Linked DNA regions of Homo sapiens: regions 1 and 3 are each linked to region 2. Evidence: promoter capture Hi-C in 16 types of primary human blood cells and fetal thymus (Javierre and others, 2016). All regions are on one chromosome and are shown on one strand. Each heading gives the region's core, a stretch centred on a gene start or on the middle of the fragment in contact. The rest is flanking DNA. Distances are from core to core; before and after follow the strand shown.

Region 1 (4,776 bases), core at 1,545-4,044, 300 kb after region 2:
TATTACATAGGACCCAGCTCCCAACCCTACCACAATGCTTTCATCCTATTCAGCATTTAGGATATTTTCCTGCTTCTGTGTTTGACAGTTTTTGAAGTCCTGAGATCCACCTCATTCTTTTTGTTACCAACATCCAACTTTTGAAAACTAAAAACCCAAATTGTTCCCAAGGGTCCCCTCACCATCACTCTTGGGGTTCCCCAGGACCTTGAGCACCTCGGCGTTGGTGGGGTTCTGGCCCAGGGCCCTCATCACGTCCCCACACTGGCTGTACAGGATCTTGCCATCCCCCACTCGGTCAAACAGCTCGAAGGCCTCCTTGAACTCTAAAGTATAAGGAAGGGTCAGTGTAGACACTGACTAGGGTTCCCATCACCCCCAGACAGAAGGGAATTTCAGAAACTATGTGAACAGAACAAGGGAGGAAAAGAGGACTAGTATGGGAGGTTTCAAGGTCAGGACTGGGGTTAGGGGAATAGAAAGAGAATCTGACCAGGGGATTGGGGATGGGACAGTGGCCTTAGATGAGCTTCTCCTCACCCTCCAGCTGGTCCTTGTTAAACTCGATCTGTGGAAGAAAAAAGCAGGTGGGGAGAGATGAGAGTTTATTCAATCCCTCTCCCGCACTCCTCCCAACCAACTGGCAGCCACTTCTGAGGAGGGGCCCAAAGGGACCAGGCTGGAAGCCCAGCCACCTCAGTCCCATTCCCAGCTCTGGGCCTTGGGAGAATCCCAAGAAGAGGAATTACAGTGGGGAGGGTTTCCTGGGAACAGGGTTAATCCCATGCCACCTGTTTCCCTCCCTCCATTGCCCTGAGCCCTGCATCCCACACATAACTGGGGGCTGAACAAAGGCTAAATTTACCCCTGGCCCCCAGCTGTGATTGTCTAACAAGTCTGTCCTCTTCAGCCTCCCCTCCTGGAGTTCAGAGCTGCAGGCCTTTTGAATTGAACCACCAGCCAGGGGCAGGCAACAGCTCTCTTCCCTTCACCTTGAAACTGTTCTCAGAACCCAGATGTTCCCCATCTAAGAGTCCCTGCCTCCAGCAGGGGGTAAGTGAGTGTGTATGTGCTGTACACACATGATTATAGGTTAGAGGGAGAGAACAGCAAAGACAACAGCAGAGTCATAAGACTGGATGCTTCCAAATGGGGGACTAAGGGAAAGCCCCAATCTCATTCCAGGGCTCACTGATTCCCTACCTTCTAGATACCCCCTAATCCCCTAGGCTGTATCCCACCCTCAAACCACCCCCTCCAATTCTATCTTCACTTTCCAGAGACTCACCACCACTTTGGAGAGATCGACTGGAGGCTCCTGGGTTTTCTGAGGGGCCTGGGGGACAGCTGGCTCAGCTTTGGTCTTGGCTGGAGGAGCCCCTGCTGCTGCTGGCTTAGCAGCAGGTTTGGAGATGGAGGGCCCTGCTGGTTTCTTCACGGGAACATCCTTCTTGGGAGGCATGATGTCCGGTGGCCAAAGGACAGTGTGCGGATGGGGGCACCCATCTCTGTTTAAATAGCCAGGGAGTCTGGGATGTCAAGGGGCGGGGGCAGGGGCAGGGAGCCAGTTGGCTGTGGCAAAGATGAGGTAGAGGAGAGATATAACCGCCTGCCCTCACTCCCCTGGCCTCCTATGGTTCAGGACTCCTGCCCCAAGGTCTTCTTCCCTCTGTCCCCTTATCCCCAAAGGCTGACCAGAAAAGAACAATGTTTCCTTTAGGGGTAGGGGAGGAAGCCAGAGACTGCCCAGAATGAGGTAGTTAACCTCCAGGGTGAGGATAGGATGCTTGCCAGTGGCACTGAGATGGGGGTGGTGAGGCAAAGCAGGTGATCCAGCAGCTTTAGTCTTCTTGAAGGGTGGGGTGAGGGGTAGCAGCCAGGGAGGCTTGTGTGAACTGGAACAAGTTAAAGTGTGGTCTGGGAGCAATGACAAAAACAAGAAGCCCATCTGCCCAGCCCCTCCACTCCCTTCTGACCATGGCTTTGTAAAGAGCAGGGGTAGTTAACCTTAGAGTCTAATGATCCCTAATACTTGTAGTTCCTGAGCCCCCACCCAGCCAAGAACTGGAACTATTCACAGTATAAAGGAAGAATAGTCATAAAAACAGGAGTATGACATCCCTCATTGTCTCCTGTGCCCAGTGTTGTTTTAGGGGCAGGAGTGGGGGCAAAGATCAGGTTTAACATCTGCTACCCATTCTTCCATGGAAGAAACCTTCCACAAGCCCACGGTCATTCAAGACAAACAAAAGGTAGGGTGCTTGCTGAACCTGTGGGGACCCTTTGGTGGCACCTGAGGAGAAGGGCAGGCTCTGGGAGACGGCTTAAATTCCCTAATCCAAGAGGATGTGGGCGCTCCTATGGCTCCATGAGTATTCACCCCACAACCAGGGGTATAATAAAAATCCTGACTCAGGGGCCAGGTCACAAACCTTGCCAGGGGCGCTGGGAGAGAGTCCAAGTTGGGGGGCGTTTGGGAGTGGGGAGGGATTGCAGGCTACTTTTGTTCTGGGGTAAATTAGGAAAGGATTTAGGTAGCATTCTGAGGAAGATAGCAGTGATTCCACTTAGGCCCCGGGGTTGATGCTGGGTCTCCCATTCGCAAAACAGCGTCTGAATCTCATGACTGCAAATTGTCCCATTTTTACAAAATACATCACACACACACGACACACACACACACACACACACTCACGCACCCCCACTAAATCTTAAAGAAAATGGCCCTCCTCAGCCCCCAAAAACTCACCCTGCGGGGTCCGTGTCTGGGGCTGGGGAGGGGGCGGGGCATAGCGCGGCCCCCAGCCCTGAAGGGTTAATTCCGGTGGCCGCGGAGCATGCCGGGAGTCGTAGTTCCCCGCGGGCTCACGGGATGCGCCGCGCTCTAGATTGCAGTTGACGCGAGGGCGGTGGCTTCCGGCCCATGGCGGTGGTTGGTGACTCAGTGTCCTTCCAGCGCGCTTTATGTCCCGGAACTGAAAGGCAATGAACAATTTCCAATCCACCCCAACCCTAAAAACCCTGCGGGGCCCCTAGGGTATCCCTCCTACTTAACCCTGGCGGGCTCCTAGTCTCGGGAGGTGGAGGGGGCGGGGCGGCTGTTTTCCTGGACCTACTGCTGAAAGAACTCAGAACCTGGGGAAAGATTGAGGCTGCAGCAGGCAGCGTGGAGGTCAGATAGCTGGAAGCACTTAACGGCCCCGGGGAGAACCGCTGCACTCTCTTTTGCTTCCTCTCGCGGTTTGGTAGAAAAAAAAGAGGCCTCAGAGTAGTTTGTTTTTAATGAGCTGGTTGCTGAAGTAAATGTTAAAATTTGCAATTAAGCCCAGTCACCTGCCCCAGCCTTCTCTGATCGAGGTTTCCATCCTGCGGCAGCATATGCGCCATCCTCCTCGATCTTCACAGGTCTCTGAGCGGAGGGCTGGGCTTTCCAGCCCTACTTTCTGAAACTCTTATGGTCAGCATTGGAGTTCACTGGTTCCCCTAGGCGTTGATCAGAGGATGGGAACCAGCCCGGCCGGGCCCACCTTCACTCACTGGATCAGTAAATACCCTGGCGGTGCACCTGGTGTTGGAAGCTGGTGCTGCACAGGCGTGTGAGGATTAGATCAGAGCAGAAAACTCGGGCGATGGCAGGGTGGTGAGGCACAGGTGAACTTTATGGGCAGTAAGTGAGGTTCACTGGTTGGGGAAAGTTTATTGGAAAGGTAGAAATGAATTGTACGACAGAAATAACGATAATAGTAAGTTAGCAACCATTTCTGGAGGCCGCCATAGATCTCGTACCGGTGAAGGGGCTAAATTATCTCAGAGGGTGCTCAAGTGGATGGGGTTCAGACAGCCTACTCAGATTTAAATCCTGGTTCTACCAGGTCCTAGTTAGTGACCCTCAGCAGGTTTAGTTATCTCTCCTGGGCCTCAGTTCCTCATCTGTAAAATAATGATAATGGTACCTACCTCATAGGGCTCTTCGGAGGATTCGAAGTGTTATTATTGGTAAAATAGGGCCGGGCTTGGTGGCTCACACCTCCCAGCACTTTGGGAGGCGAGGCAGGTGGGTCACCTGAGGTCAGGAGTTCGAGACCAGCCTGGCCAACATGGTGAAACCCTGTCACTACTAAAAATACAAAAAAAAAAAAAAAAAAAAAAAAAAAAAAAAATAGCTGGGCCTGGTGGCGGGCGCCTGTAATCTCAGTTACTTGGGAGGCTGAGGTCGGAGAATCACTTGAACCCGGCAGGTTGCAGTGAGCCGAGATCGCACCACTGCACTCCAGCCTGGGTGACAGAGTGAGACTCCAACTCAAAAAAAAAAAAAAGTGTAAAATAGAATAGGCCTGGCACAGCATAAGTGCTGTATAAGTTTTTGTTAAATAACTTTCCTTTAATCTTCCCAAGGTATGAGGTCGCTGATATTTTCCCCATTTTACATCAATGAAGTAAGGATCAATAGGTGTTGTGAAGAGACGGAGAGGAAGAAGGAATACATTTTTAAGTGGTTATAAGACTGGGAAAGGGCCACATTATAGATGCCTTTGTGTGGCTTTCATTACTTTTGCAGACATTGATTTCAAAATATGGCTCTTGTAATTTTTTTTCTTTCCTTTTCCCATTTTTGGCATTTTGCCAAGTATGAGTGGTTATGGCATCATCTGACTTTCTAGCATTTTCTATAGAGAAGTAGTACAGGGAAAAAACGTTAAGACCCTTGCAGAGATGGGAAGGCTATCCTTCATTTTCTGTGCCATCCCTGTCTTGATCATAAATAACAGGAACTGG
Region 2 (4,505 bases), core at 296-2,795:
AAGAGGTGCCATCCTATACCTCCCTTCCTCGACCCAGTATGGTGAGTACTGGGTAACCGACACCTTAAGTTTCTGGCCTTTACCCTGCTGCCAGTCAAGTGTGTGGCTCTTGATTTCTGAGGGAACAGAGAAGCAGGGAGTTACTCCTCACACGAGGCAGATGGAGAGAAGTGGAGGAGACAAGGCTTCCAAGGGTTAGGAGAAGGGACTCAAGGGAGGTGGGTGGTGAAAACGGAGTATTAGCCCCAGATCAGGATGTAGGTGTACCGAAGAATTGGGGGGAAGTTAATGGGAATATATAGCCTACTTATCTTAGGGATGCTTGCCCCAGGGACTTGGGTGGGGAAGTAGCTCTGAGAAAAGTGAACACTAGGATTTAGCTGTTCTGTAAAGCCACGTAAACCTGTCTACATCCGCTGGCTGGTTGTGTTCATTCTGACATAATGGATCTCTTCAGAGGTCCTGGGCCAAAGAGCTTCCAACCTAAATAGAGCTTGGGCAAGCCTAGAATCTAGAAAAATTAAGCAGCTTAACTGGTCAGCCTGACATCCACTGTTGTGGCTGCCTGGCAGATGGTATTTAAGCCCCACAATTGTTCCCTAAGGCCAACACAGGAAATCTGATTCCTGGAGCAAATAAATGAACGGGTGGTAGTAGGGGGCATGAGGGGAGAGGCTTTGACTCTGTTCTAATTTATTTAGAGCAAATCAAAACACTCCTCAAATGGCATCTTTCTGCTTTTATCACTAGTTCCGTGTTTTTTTTCTTGTTTTGTGTCTGTGTATTTTCATTTCTCTGTCATCCGTCCTTTCATCTTGAAGCAAATCTCTTCTAACTCCCTCATACCCCAGAAATTGATTCCTTCTATTCAAATGCTTAATAATTCAGGAGATTATTATTTGTTTGAGCCCTATCTTCTTTTTTTTTTTGAGAGGGGGTCTTACTATGTTGACCAGGTTGGAGTGCAATGGATATTCACAGGCACGATCATCGCACACTACAGTCTAGAAATCCTGGGCTCAAGCGATCTTCCTGCTTCAGCCTCCCCAGTAGCTGGGATTACAGGGGGCCAGAGCACAGCCCTATTTTCTTTTCCTTTTGGCAAGATCATCTCAGCAGAGGCCAGAAGAGACCCTCAACTGTTCAATGAATATTTACGGTTGCTTTCTTCCTTTTATGAGCCTCTTGCATACTTTGAAAGCTTTAAATTTATACCTATAATACAACGGACATCCCCTATCCCAGAAGACCATTCCTCCCTGTACTTCAGCTCTTTACTTCCTCCCAAATAAAACCTAACTTTTCTAACTAACTATTTAAGACTTGGAATAGTCCGCTTGACTAGAAGAAGGGGAAGAATGTTTGTAAATTCACCTCTAATCGGACTTTGATTCTACTATAATTCAGCAGAAAATTCATAGCGCTGTGATTTTTAGATCGACCTCACATAAAACAGTCCCTGCACTCGCTTCCCTTTTCCTTCCTTCTTCACCAATCTCCGCCCCAGTTCGCTCGGAGTCACGTGGACCAGCCCGGCTCGCCCCGCCTCGCTCTTCGCGCAGGCGGGGACCGGTCCAGCTGAGCCTGGTGGCGGAAAGGCTGCGGCCCCGCGCCAGAGGGCCGGTGGCTCCTCCGGGCTTCTGAGGACCCGCAGGGAGCGGGTGAGTGAGTGTGTGGCGAGAGGGCGCTAAGCGGACACGGGGATCCTTTCGAAGCTATGGGGGCATTCTCGGGAAACGCTGAGTCCCTTTTCCCGCCACCCGGTTTAGAGCCAGGGGGCGGGGCTCGTGCTGCAGGCGCGCACGCGCAATTCTGTACTCTGCTCCTTAGTCTCCCGCGCCGCGTTCCCGGGTCTCACCGGACGCGGGCTTAGCCCTACGCTGCTCCGCACAGCTTGGGTCTCCCGCGGGATGGGGTTGTGATGGAAAGGGGCTTGGAATTCCTGAATTAGAACAGAAAGTGCCTGAGGGAGTTCCACTTCGGAGCTTAGCATCTAGTTGAGACCTCCTGAAAAAAACCGGTGTGTGGCCTGGCGGTCAGCAGTGGTCGGAATTCACAGGCCGCTTTACTTATATCGTGGGTTTTATGGAACGGATTTCTCACTCCCTCCCTTCGTTGCCTTGTTCGGGTTTGTCACCTGGACCTCAGCCGCTAATGAAGCTTTTTTCCTTGAGCCTCTCAATTCTTTGCCATTCGTGCTTCGACTAGTACTTTCAATTTTTTATTTATTTTATTTTATTTTGAGACGGAGTCTCGTTCTGTCGCCCAGGATGGAGTGCAGTGGCGCCATCTCGGCTCACTGCAACCTCCGCCTCCCGGGTTCAAGCGATTCTCTTGCCTCAGCTTCCTGAGTAGCTGGGATTACAGGCGCGCGCCACCATGCCCGGCTAATTTTTGTATTTTTTTTAGTAGAGATGGGGGTTTCACCTTATTGGTCAGGATGATCTCAAACTCCTGACTTCGTGATCCGCCCGCCTCGGCCTCCCAAAGTGCTGGGATTATAGGCGTGAGCCACCGCGCCTGGCCTGTTTGTTTTTTTTGGTTGTTTTGTTTTGTTTTGTTTTTGAGATGGAGTCTGGCTCTGTCGCCCAGGCTGGAGTGCAGTGGTCCGATCTCGGCTCACTGCAACCTCCGCCTCCCCAGTTCAAGCGATTCTCCTGCCTCAGCCTCCCCAGGAGCTGGGATTACAGCTGCCCGCCACCACGCCCGGCTAATTTTTGTATTTTTAGTAGAGATGGGGTTTCACCATGTTGGCCAGGCCGGTCTCGAACTCCTGACCTCAAATGATCCGCCCGCGTCGGCCTCCCACAGTGCTGGGATTACGGGTGTGAGCCACCACACCCGGCCCTACTAGTACTTTGTACAAAGTAAAGGTAGATCATCTGATGTTAAATTTAAAACTCCTCTTTGACCACCCACAGTTAGCCTTAAATCCGTAGGTGGGTGTCTGTGGCCTCTCAGTCTGGCCCTGACCCTCTCAATCTCATTTTGTAAATCTCTTACGCACCTGACTCCTGGCCACGTGGAAAGATTGTGGCTGCCCTCTTTCATATCTCAGTACTTAGTTCCTGCTGTTCCTTCTGCTTGGAAGATCTTGACACTGCTCTGCCAAGCGAACTTCTCTTTGAAGACTGAGCTTAATTGTCCCTCTGAAAATCAATGTATCCAGCTTCCTATGCCAAGTTAGTCACTTCTTCCTGTGTGTCCCTGAAGTTTTTTACCCCCCTCTATTACCAGGGGCACTGATACAGCTCAATAAAAGATCAATAAAAGGTTACTGAGCTCCTAACATGTACCATGCACTGTGCTTAGCGCCAGGCTTACAGAGATGAGTAGGATGGAGAGTTCCCGACCCTTAAGGAACTCAAGTCCTAAGGAAAACACATGTAATTGAGTCTTCTGTGGTTACAGTGAAAGGGTCATCAAGAAGTCCTTCCTGGCTTCCTTCCTCCTCTCACTGCACTCACACCATCTTACATCCTGATGCCTCCAAATCTTTAGCTCCAAACTCTTCTCCCTCATCTTCCAGACTTCTCTGTTTCAGTTCAATTTAGTAAAGCATTTATTGAGCACTTACATTGTGCTGCGTAATGATGATTCCTGATGTGAAAGAGTTTACGTTTTCGTGCAGTTAACATAGGATAGTTAGAATCACCTGAGGAACATTGTCAAAACACTTGCCTAAGCCCCATCGCTGGAAATTCTGATCCTGTAGCAAGGCTCTGAAAGTTCAAGGGTGAATAAGAATTCCTATCTCTACTAAAAAAAAAAAAAAAAAAAAAAAAAAACAAAAATTAGCTGGGTATGGTGGCATTTTCCTGTAATCCCAGCTACTTGGGAGGCTGAGGCAGGAGAATCACTTGAACCCGGGAGGCGGAGGTTGCAGTGAGCCGAGATTGCACCATTGCATTCCAGCCTGAGTGACAGAGTGAGACTCGTCTCCAAAAAAAAAAAAAATAAAAAGAATTCCTGTCCTCAGGGAATCTAAGGCTAATGGAGGGAGATAGACTTTGATTTTAACTATTATATACAACATGAATTGTAAGTACCATGTTGGAAGTCTGAATATGGTACACAGTAGACATTAAGGAAAAGGAGGTCACTTCTGTATGGAGAAGTCAGGAGGAAGTCCCTTTTGGGCAGTCTTTTTTTTTTTTTTTGAGATGGAGTTTTGCTCTTATTGTCCAGGCTGGAGTGCAGTGGCGTGGTCTCCCAGGTTCAAGCGATTCTCCTGGCTCAGCCTCCCAAGTAGCTGGAATTACAGGCACCCACCACCACACCTGGCTAATTTTTTTTATTTTTAGTAGAGACAGGGTTTCACCATGTTGGCCAGGCTGGTCTTGAAGTCCTGACCTCAGGCGATCCATCCGCCTCAGCCACCCAAAGTGCTGGGATTACAGGCATGAGCCACTGCGCCTGGCCTGCACAGAGTCTTCAGAGCTAAGCTGATATTTGGATGGGAGGCCATTCTAGATAGAGTAGTGGCTTGAGAGAGAAGCGTGAGA
Region 3 (4,693 bases), core at 70-2,569, 270 kb after region 2:
ATTATGTACTTGTACTGTTAAGCCGCTACCATGGGAACGTTTTAAAACACAAACATATCTAAAAAATTGAAAAATGTAAAGAATGATAAAAACAAACATGAAGAATCAGGGCGCGGTGGCTTACGCCTGTAATCCCAGCACTTTGGGAGGCCGAGGCAGGCGGATCACGAGGTCAAGAGATCAAGACCATCCTGGCTAACACGGTGAAACCCCATCTTTACGAAAAATACAAAAATTTGCCAGGCGTGGTGGTGGGCGCCTGTAATCCTAGCTATTCGGGAGGCTGAGGCAGGAGAATCACTTGAATCTGGGAGGTGGAGGTTGCAGTGAGCCGAGATCGCACCACTGCACTCCAGCCTGGGCGACAGAGCGAGACTCCGTCTCAAAAAAACAAAACAAAAAACATGAAGAGAAGTTCTGTATTCTCTCCCTGAGTTGCAGTGGATCATCTTTTGCGTCCTATGTTAGAACCCCACTTTGGAGACATTGCTCCACCAATACTGGTTTACAGTCTGTATTCTGTAGACTCACCCCAGGTATTCCAGAAGTGTATTTCAGGGGTAGGATTAGGGCTGCCACCAAGAAGAGTTCTGGCTTCTACCTCCTCATCAATCAGCTCTCTCTCTTCTCTATGTTTGCTCCTGAGCATATGTATATGAATTCAGTTGAGGAAAGTATCCTCTGCTTTCAAAAATGTTTAACACTTAACCATTCTTCCACAGAGTGATTTGGTCAGATTCAGTATCAGACCATTAAAAGCTTACAGATACATAGATGGAGATAAAGGCCTGTCAAAGACAAGAATCATTTATGAATGTACATAGAGAAATAAGTTAAATTAATTTTTGGTTGGAGAAGTGGGGAAAGTAGCAAGAAGTTTGAAGCCCTAGAATAATTGTGACTGGAGAGAATTACTATATTTTGCAATCAGGTGGAGACAATTTTTGGAGAAAGTAGGATGTCTGGAACTATTAAATTGAAGGCTTGAATTAGGCAAAATCTGTCTGATAAAATGACTCTCTGTTTTCGCAGTCAACACAAAGAAAGACTCAGAGTCGGCCCCAGTCAAAGGCGGCACCATGACCGACCTGGGTAAGACAGGAGCCTCTTGGGCACGGCAGTCAGAGCCAAGGGAAGGGGAGGGCTCAGCTGCCCCCTTTTCGCTAGCCTGATGGGCTTTTGGTAGGGCTTTCTTGCCCCTCAGGAGGCTCCAGCCTTACATCTTGGTTTTTCTCTTTCAGATGAACAGGAAGATGAAAGCATGGAGACGACGGGCAAGGTGGAGCCAGTTTAGAGAGGCCCTACCTCTCTATGTGATTCTGATTTGTGATTATAAAGTTCATTCTGCCCAAACTTTTCACTGCCCAGACTTTACCCACTGTAGACTAATTCCAGCTTTGTTCAAAACTCTGACCCTTTCAGAGTCCTGGGGCCCATGACTGCTCAGTCCCATCACCCATCTTTAGTGTCCACATTCCTGGGGTGTGGGAGAAGCAGAGGGTTGCTAGGGAGGAAGCAGGAATGCTGAGTGTCCAGCAGCCTCCATACTCGTAGGATGAGGATGAGAACAGTACGGGGAACAAGGGAGAGCAGACCAAGAATCCAGACCTGCATGAGGACAATGTGACTGAACAGACCCACCACATCATCATTCCCAGCTACGCTGCCTGGTTTGACTACAATAGGTATGGTTGTCCCCAACTTCTCACTGAGTCCTTATTTCCCTGCCTCCAGGGGTCAACAGGCTGTTCTTCTCCCTGCCTCCTCCAAATAAGTTATTTTTTCCTCACCCAAATAGACCAGAGTACACTTTAGTTTTAGGGGAGCTCCTTGTGTCCTTTTGAGTCTTACAGCCTGTGGGATGTTCTCCCCAAGCTTCTAACTTCAGCAATTTCGAGCTCTTTTCCTTCTTTGCCTTCTAGGCTTTTCCTCCCTTTGGGGCCCCCATCCCTTCACCAATGCCTTCTTCTGAAACCATTCTGGCTTTTCTTGCAGTGTTCATGCCATTGAGCGGAGGGCTCTCCCCGAGTTCTTCAACGGCAAGAACAAGTCCAAGACTCCAGAGATGTAAGGAAATCTCATCTCATGATTCTCCTTCTCCCTCCTGTCCCCACATTCACCCTTCCTGATCCAGTAACATTCAGTTTAGCAAACATTTCTTGAGCATCTTCCATGAGCCAGGCACTATGCTAGGCTTACAAAGGCACAATATCTGCCTTTAGGCAGCCCTGGCCTAGCATGTAGACACATGTTCTTTAGGATTTGCCCAAGGGTGATATTAAGCATGTTCTATACATAACAAGTACCTACTCCAGTGCCTCAACTTCTTTTTAACAGGGTATAGAGCCTTTAAATCCATATTACTGATATCGTCTATACTGCAGATATTCCTAGCACAAAAGTTTTGATTAAAGTGTAAATTACTATTACCAGGCTGGTTCCTGAGAGTAGGTTTTAATAGAAAAACAAGAGAAGGAACTAATAGAAGACCAGTTTATATAAATTAAGGGATGGAGAGGGCTCACTGGGAAAGAAGTGTAGGAGCCACGGTGGCTCACGACTGTAAATCATCCCAGCTACTTGGGACACTGAGACAGAAGGATTCCTTGAGGCCAGGAGTTCAAGAATAGCATGAGCAACATAGCAAGACTCCCATCTCTAAAGAAGTGAAAAAAAATTAGCTGGGCCTGGTGGGGCATACCTGTGGTCCCAGCTACTTCGGAAGCTGAAATGGGAAGATTGCTTGAGCCCAGGAGTTTGAGGCTGCAGTGAGCCATGATCACACCACTGCTCTCCAGCCTGGCTGACACGGCAAGACCCCGTATCTAAAAAAATTAATGAACAAGGCTGGGTGTGGTGGCTCACGCCTGTAATCCCAGCACTTTGGGAGGCCGAGGCGGGCGGATCACAAGGTCAGGAGATCGCGACCATGCTGGCTAACATGATGAAACCCCATCTCTACTAAAAAGACCAGGCGCGGTGGCTCATGCCTGTAATCCCAGCAATTCGGGAGGCTGAGGCGGGCGGATCACCCGAGGTCAGGAGTTCGAGCTCAGCCTGACCAACATGGAGAAACCCCGTCTCTACTAAAAATACAAAACTAGCTGGGCGTGGTGGCACGTGCCTGTAATCCCAACTACTAGGGAGGCTGAGGCAGGAGAATCGCTTGAACCCGGGAGGCGGAGGTTGCAGTGAGCCGAGATTACGCCATTGCACTCCAGCCTGGGCAACAAGAGTGAAACTCCGTCTCAAAAAAAACAAAAAAACAAAAACAAAAAAAATTAGCCGGGCGTGGTGGCATGCATCTGTAGTCCCAGCTAGTCTGGAGGCTGAGGCAGGAGAATCACTTGAACCTGAGAGGCAGAGGTTGCAGTGAGCCGAGATCACGCCACTGCACTCCAGCCGGGGTGACAGAGCGAGACTCCGTCTCAAAAAAAAAAAAAATTAGCTGGGCGTGGTGGCAGGCGCCTGTAGTTCCAGCTACTTGGGAGGCTGAGGCAGGAGAATGGCATGAACCTGGGAGACAGAGCTTGCAGTGAGCCGAGATTGCGCCACTGCACTCCAGCCTGGGCGACAGAGCAAGACTCCGTCTCAAGAAAAAAAAAAAGATTTTGCCTCAGGCCAAACCTGCTTGGCTTTGGATAAGACATGGCAGTCTTCTTTGGTTAGGAATACTTCAAGATAACCACATTGATGAGGTGGGTGAGACTGAGAACTGAACAAGTTTTCTTCCCAGCTATTCCACAGCTTCCCCTCTCTGGGGGTCCCTCCGTGTTTTTTCTTCATAGCTTGCTATGGTTCTCTCTTCCTTCTCTTCCTGGAGAAAGCAGTATGTGTGAAAAGAAAGTAGTGATCAGGTGAAATGAATTCAACATGACATGCAGGCAGGGTTGGAGTAGGAACTGAACTCTTGGTATAAAATAGTAAATGATGGCTGGGCATGGTGGCTCACGCCTGTAATTCCAGCACTTTGGGAGGCCCAGGCGGGCAGATCACGAGGTCAGGAGTTCGAGACCAGCCAGGCCAACATGGTGAAACCCCGTCTCTACTAAAAATACAAAAATTAGCTGGGTGTGGAGGCACGCACCTGTAATCCCAGCTACTTGGGAGGCTGAGGCAGGAGAATCACTTGAGCCCGGGAGGTGGAGGTTGCAGTGAGCCAAGATCTCATCATTGTACTCCAGCCTGGGCAACAAGAGTGAAACTCCATCTCAGAAAAAAAAAAATAGTAAATGATGATAATTGCCTGCATCTATTGAGAGCTTAGTATCTCCCAGGCACTATACTAAATGTCCAACCTACATTGAGTAATTTAATCTTTACGTCAACCTTAGAGGTAGATATCATCTTCAGTTGACAGATAGGGTATAGAGGAGTCAAGTCACCTGCATAAAGTCACAGAGCTAGTAAATAAAACCAGGATCTGAATCCTTTAATCTGGCCCATGATCTGAAACTTTACACTGTACCACATGATAGCTGCCATTTTTTTGAGCCCCTACAATGCGCCAGGCACTATACTAGTACTTTATAGACCTCTCAACAGACATTCCATTTTACAAATGAGGAAACTGAGGTTTAAAAATTCGAAGTAAATTGCCAAGGTCCTCATGGTAGAACTGGGATTTGAACTTAGATCTTTTCAACTTCAAAACATATGTTTTTTACCGTGGTATGCTGACTAGCTATATGCA

The links. Contacts are between HindIII fragments. The CHiCAGO score rates a contact against its expected background, and 5 or more counts as called.
Region 1: a contact is called between the fragment with the promoter of MYL6B here and the fragment with the promoter of TIMELESS in region 2, in 3 of 17 cell types (naive CD4 T cells, total CD4 T cells and total CD8 T cells). The highest score is 6.9, in naive CD4 T cells.
Region 3: a fragment that was not itself captured here is called in contact with the fragment with the promoter of TIMELESS in region 2 in 2 of 17 cell types (M1 macrophages and naive B cells); the score reaches 5.3 in M1 macrophages.

The regions. Positions count from the first base shown.
Region 1 is chr12:56,150,605-56,155,380 of GRCh38, reverse strand. MYL6B (myosin light chain 6B) reads right to left here and starts at 2,794. Exons shown (of 8, transcript NM_002475.5): 1 at 2,750-2,794; 2 at 1,289-1,508; 3 at 541-568; 4 at 183-326. The coding sequence starts at 1,462. LOC124902942 reads right to left here and starts at 3,554. Exons shown (of 3, transcript XM_047429954.1): 1 at 3,334-3,554; 2 at 2,750-2,975; 3 at 1,484-1,572. The coding sequence starts at 3,387. The coding sequence ends at 1,538. MYL6B-AS1 (MYL6B antisense RNA 1) reads left to right here. Exons shown (of 3, transcript NR_186043.1): 3 at 4,396-4,585. LOC124902943 (a long non-coding RNA gene) reads left to right here and starts at 1,508. Exons shown (of 2, transcript XR_007063328.1): 1 at 1,508-2,252. RefSeq lists an enhancer at 3,641-3,720. The HindIII fragment of the contact is 15,658 bases long and covers 1-4,776 here.
Region 2 is chr12:56,446,466-56,450,970 of GRCh38, reverse strand. TIMELESS (timeless circadian regulator) reads left to right here and starts at 1,545. Exons shown (of 29, transcript NM_003920.5): 1 at 1,545-1,661. MIP (major intrinsic protein of lens fiber) reads left to right here. Exons shown (of 4, transcript NM_012064.4): 4 at 1-1,469. RefSeq lists enhancers at 1,802-1,891, 2,002-2,121, 2,144-2,664. The HindIII fragment of the contact is 959 bases long and covers 1,204-2,162 here.
Region 3 is chr12:56,175,396-56,180,088 of GRCh38, reverse strand. SMARCC2 (SWI/SNF related BAF chromatin remodeling complex subunit C2) reads left to right here. Exons shown (of 29, transcript NM_001330288.2): 12 at 1,033-1,092; 13 at 1,242-1,279; 14 at 1,555-1,685; 15 at 1,996-2,067. Among named protein-coding and RNA genes, the nearest start is that of SMARCC2, 12 kb to the left of the region's middle. The HindIII fragment of the contact is 1,116 bases long and covers 762-1,877 here.